2 separate regions of the Homo sapiens genome follow, and region 2 is linked to region 1. The links are contacts of gene promoters, found by promoter capture Hi-C in blood cells and fetal thymus (Javierre and others, 2016). All regions are on one chromosome and are shown on one strand. Each heading gives the region's core, a stretch centred on a gene start or on the middle of the fragment in contact. The rest is flanking DNA. Distances are from core to core; before and after follow the strand shown.

What was found. The method cuts DNA at HindIII sites, captures the fragments that hold promoters and counts their contacts. A CHiCAGO score of 5 or more calls a contact.
Region 2: a contact is called between a fragment that was not itself captured here and the fragment with the promoter of H3-4 in region 1, in 2 of 17 cell types (erythroblasts and total CD8 T cells). The highest score is 7.1, in erythroblasts.

The regions. Positions count from the first base shown.
Region 1 is chr1:228,423,915-228,426,614 of GRCh38, reverse strand. It overlaps H3-4 (H3.4 histone, cluster member), which reads left to right and starts at 1,255. Exons shown (of 1, transcript NM_003493.3): 1 at 1,255-1,770. The coding sequence starts at 1,290. The coding sequence ends at 1,700. The HindIII fragment of the contact is 2,523 bases long and covers 1,027-2,700 here.
Region 2 is chr1:228,122,311-228,125,010 of GRCh38, reverse strand. No RefSeq gene overlaps it. Among named protein-coding and RNA genes, the nearest start is that of MRPL55, 14 kb to the right of the region's middle. The HindIII fragment of the contact is 365 bases long and covers 1,235-1,599 here.

The DNA.
Region 1 (2,700 bases), core at 6-2,505:
CCTTGCTTTTACTATAAGGAGAACATCTTTCATATGGGAATTTCATCTCTTGTATTTAAGAAACAACAAGAAATTCAGAATGATCTTCCTACACCTGCTTCTTCTTTTTTTTTTTTAAGTGCCTTTATCTCAAAATAGACAATATGCCAGAAAGGCACATCTTTACCTTCTTCAGAATCCTAAGGCTCATCTAAGCCGTACAGGTAAGGGAGTTCTTTGCAGGTCATAAAAAGTGGGAGATTCCTTTAACTCTGGCTGCATCCCAGAGCTTTGTCACTGTGTAAAAGTGGAATGCCGGCCGGGCACGCTGGCTCACGCCTGTAATCCCAACACTTTGGGAGGCCGAGGCGGGCGGATCACGAGGTCAGGAGATCGAGACCATCCTGGCTAACATGGTGAAACCCCGTCTCTACTAAAAATACAAAACAAAATTAGCCAGGCATGATGGCGGGCACCTGTAGTCCCAGCTACTCTGTAGGCTGAGGCAGGAGAATGGCGTGAACCCGGGAGGCGGAGCTTGCAGTGAGCTGGGATTGCGCCACTGCACTCCAGCCTGGGCGACAGAGAGAGACTCCGTCTCAAAAAAAAAAAAAAAAAAGTGAAATGCCAGCTGGGCCTGGTGGCTCATGCCTGTAATCCCAGCACTTTGGGAGGCCGAGGCGGGTGGATCACCTGAGGTCAGGAGTTCGAGACCAGCCTGGCCAATATGGTGAAACCCCATCTCTATTAAAAACACAAAAAATTAGCCAGGCATGGTGGCGGACACCTGTAATCCCTGTAATTCCAGTTACTCGGGAGGCTGAGGCAGGAGAATCGCTTGAACCTGGGAGGTGGAGGTTGCAGTAAGCAGAGATCACGCTATTGCACTCCAGCCTGGGCAACAAGAGTGAAACTCCATCTCAAAAAATAAAAAAATAAATTAATTTTTTAAAAAAGTGGAATGCCATGTGCTGGCTTCTGGAAGGCTCTTGCCACCCAAGTCATGGGGAAGGGAGAAGAGGAGCGCTGAGAAGACATGAGGAAGCTTGTGCTGGAGAGAGATGATCCCCACCACCGCGGCCTACCCGCATCAACCCTTCACAATGCTGGTGCCAGCTCTGGTGGCCACGACCAACAGGCATGAATATAAGGGAGAGGCGCCCGAGTGGAGTTCCCTGTGGGCCAATCAGAGAGCAGTGGGCCATCACGCCACCTGAGGCCAGCCAATGGGAACGCGGCAAGCTCTATAAAAGCGAGCAATCCGCTGAGGTCTGGGCAGAGGACACCGCGGGGCCAACAGTTTCGGATTCATGGCCCGAACCAAGCAGACTGCGCGCAAGTCAACGGGTGGCAAGGCGCCGCGCAAGCAGCTGGCCACCAAGGTGGCTCGCAAGAGCGCACCTGCCACTGGCGGCGTGAAGAAGCCGCACCGCTACCGGCCCGGCACGGTGGCGCTTCGCGAGATCCGCCGCTACCAGAAGTCCACTGAGCTGCTAATCCGCAAGTTGCCCTTCCAGCGGCTGATGCGCGAGATCGCTCAGGACTTTAAGACCGACCTGCGCTTCCAGAGCTCGGCCGTGATGGCGCTGCAGGAGGCGTGCGAGTCTTACCTGGTGGGGCTGTTTGAGGACACCAACCTGTGTGTCATCCATGCCAAACGGGTCACCATCATGCCTAAGGACATCCAGCTGGCACGCCGTATCCGCGGGGAGCGGGCCTAGGAGGGCTATCTCGCCACCTGAGAGGTTGCGCAACGTTCACCCCAAAGGCTCTTTTAAGAGCCACCCACCTGGTCGAAGAGTTGCTGTAGCAAGCTAGTCTCTTGGGTTTCGGGGGGTTCCTTCCGCTGGCCTGTGCTGGCTTACCTACTTCTGATTAGGGTGGGAGGCTGGTGAATCCTGTGTTCACCCTGTCCAGTTAGGAGGCCAGCTACTCACACGCGTTACCTCTCAGCCTGTCTCCAGTCACAAATCCAGCTAGTAGTGTGTGGGGCTAACTTGGCCTATCCGTTTAGATAAGAATCATGGTTGGTCTGTTTTGGGGACGGGGTGTTGAGGGTAGCCTAATTGGTCTATCTCCAGTTAGGTAAGCAACCCCAGCTAGTTGTGTCAACTCAGCCTATCTACAGTTAGGTTGGAAGGCTGGCTGGTCTTGTGTGTTCTCAGCTCAGCCTCTTTCAAATTAGGTTAGAAGTCCTGCGTGTGTGTGTGTGTGTGTACACGCAGCTTGTTTCCAGTGAGGTTACCAGTCCAGCTAGTCTTCTGCCTTGACAGCCCATCTCCTGTTAAGGCCAGCAAGTAGTATGTATTATCTTGGCCTATTTTAAGTTAGAAGTCCAGCTACTTCACCAGCATAGCAGCTTACGCCTGTAATCCCAGCACTTTGGGAGGCCGAGGCGGGTGTATCACCTGAGGTCAGGAGTTCCAGACCAGCCTGGCCAACATGGTGAAACCCCATCTCTAAAATTAGCCGGGTTTGGTGGCGCATACCTGTAATCCCAGCTACTTGGGAGGCTGAGGCAGGAGAACTGCTTGAACCCAGGGGGCGGAGGTTGCAGTGAGCCAAGATCATGCCACTGCACTGCAGCGTGGGCAACAGAACGAGACTCAATCTCAAAAAAAAAAACAAAAAAAAGTCCAGCTACTTGTGTGTTTTAACTCAGCCTACCTCCTGTTAATTTAGAAGGCTGGCTAGTTGTGTATCTTTTTAACTTGGGCTATC
Region 2 (2,700 bases), core at 168-2,667, 300 kb after region 1:
TCTCAGCTCCCCCGGCCTTTTGCATGTAGGCTGTTCCAGTGCAGAACACACAAGAAAGGACGCAGTGTCAATAGAAACAAATCCTGAATAAAGTCAGAGAGTTCAACCAAAAGGGAGTTTGAATACAAGATAGAACTAAACCACACAGAATAAAGATTACTCATGGAAGCTGAGAGTGCAATGGACTCAGGTGGGTACTGCATATGGTTCCAGAGGTTGCCGATCTGGGAAAAGCTCCTCCTTTCTGTGTCAACCTGAAATTGTTAGCAGTGGTGAATCTGTATGGGTCTGCACCAACCTGAATTCTTGACACACCAAGGCAAATTTTAGAGCAGGAATGAAAGTTTATTATTAAAAAGTTCTAGAGCAGGAACGAAAGGAAGTAAAGTACACTCGAAAGAGGACCATGAGGGCAACTTGAGAGATTCAAGTGCACGATTTGACCTTTGACTTGGGGTCTTATACATTGGCATGTTTCTGAGATCTTGCATCTCTTCTCCCCTGATTCTTCCCTTAGGGTGGGCGGTCTACATGCTCAGTGGCCTGCCAGCACTTGGGAGGGGCCACATGCACAGTGTGTTTACTGGAGTTGTATGCATGCTCATCTGAGGCATTCTTCCCTTACCAGTTGAGTGTTCCTAGAGGAAGGTCATACACCAGTTAAACTCTGCCATTTTGCCTCTTAGTGCTCATGCTTGACCCCACTCACCCAACTCCTAAGATCTTATTTGGAAGCTGCTGATTAACAGCTTCAGGTGTTATCTATCTATTAGGACACAGCTTTCCCTGGCACCAGCTGCAATCAATTATTTTAAAGCAACAGTTTAGCAACTGCCTGATTATCACCTGGTGATTGTCTGACATTCCTGGTTTGGGGGAGGGCCTCTCCTGCCCTGCTCATGTCTGCCTAACTACCTACAGTATCAAAATGAGCAAGAGAGACCAGTTCTCAAAACAAAGAGTTTACTTGCTAATAGCCAAGGAATTGCAATCTGGGATGCATGTGCTTTTGTGGACCATAAGCATATTTGAGGGGTTGGGGCAAGAGGAAGCTTTTGAAGGCAAAAAAGAGTAAGTGCATGTAAGATATTTTGAAACATAAATTACTGTTCACAGGGGCTTATTGCAGGCAGTGTTTGTTCATTGGTGGTGCTGGCTGTTGCTAGCAGAGGTGTAACTGAACTCAGGTCTGGGCCACTTGTAGCTTGAAAGGCAAAAACTCAAGAGACAAGCTTTGGTGAAAGGAAAGTTAGCTTTATTCAAGAAGCCAGCAACCCAGGGAAGGCAGTGAACTAGGGTTCAAAGATCACCTTTCTGAGTCATGCTTCTAAATCAGGGGTTTTTAAGGGAAATTAGGGAGAATAATGAAAACATTCTTGTGAAACGTGGGCATTCTCAGGTGGGCATTTAATCCTTGCCTTCTTGGTCAATGCTTTGTGGCCTTCTGTGGGTATGGTCAGGCCGGCCAATTCATTCCCAGAGCTGTTGGTTGGCACATTTTAAAAAATCTCTGTTGAAGGTCCTCTTTTTCTGAGGCTGTTTTTAGTGAATAATCTAAAGACTCAAGCAAAGCAATAATTGTATTCAAGCAAGCAAGCTTTCCTCTAACATGGAGTCAGTACTGTTACAGAGGCTCTTCATAGAAGAGCCCCTTCTTCCATGGAAGTGACTTAACTGAAAGTTCTGATAGGGAAAGTCACCTGCTTATGTCACAGCTCTGCACTGGCCCACCCCACTTGCCCCTGCAGTGACTTAGGTCACCACTGTGCAGGCCTGGCTTAAGTCAACCCATGCCACCCCCTTGGGTTGTCAGCCTTAGAAAGACTGGCTTCCTAAAAGAAAACATTTTATTTGAGAATAGCAAAAGATTGCAACCAAAGGTATGCATGTATGATATTGTGAAATATACATATTTAGGCTTTGTCTCCATTTTGGGGGCTCAGAAACAGATATCCCCAAAATATGGCGCTTTGACATGCAGAAATGAAGAAGCTGCAAGGTCTCTCTGACCTTCCCCACCTCATGTCTCCCAATTCTCTGTCTCTCCCAAAGCACAGGATAAAGTTGTTCTCTGAAGCTCCCTTATCTGCCTAAAGAAGGAAACAATTATCTCTGGTCCCTTCCCTGAGTTTTTATTAACTGAATTCATATTGCAGGGAGAAAGTCTGAAGTCAGTCCACCTGGACAGATGTCACAAACCACCGTCTACCCTCTGAGCCCAACAGACTTCGTGGAGGCCATTGTATGTTCTTCAAGCCCATTGAACTCCCCTAAAAATCATTTACTGAGCTCCTAAAATCATTTATGCTTCCCCATCTCCCTTGCCCTTAAGGGCAAGTAACCATCTGTACCCCACTCAGTGGTGGGGTAGTCACTCTGAGATTTTCTCCCATCATATTAATAAATTTGTGTGTCATATATATTCATCGCTGTTTTGTCAGATGATTTTCAGCAAATCTTGAGGGTGAAAGGTCTTTCCTGGCATACAACACCTGAAGTCCTTGAAATCTCTATAAGTAAGTGATTTTTTGTATGCTAATGAGTTGGCTGGTGGCTGGCAGCCCCTAGGTAGCTTCAGAATGGGGCTGGTCACTGAAAAGATCAAGGCAGGATTGGAATTTTCAGCCTCATCCCCACCTCCCCATGTCTGGGGAGGGGAAAGGGACTGAAGGTTAAACTGAGTACCTATGGCCAGTGATT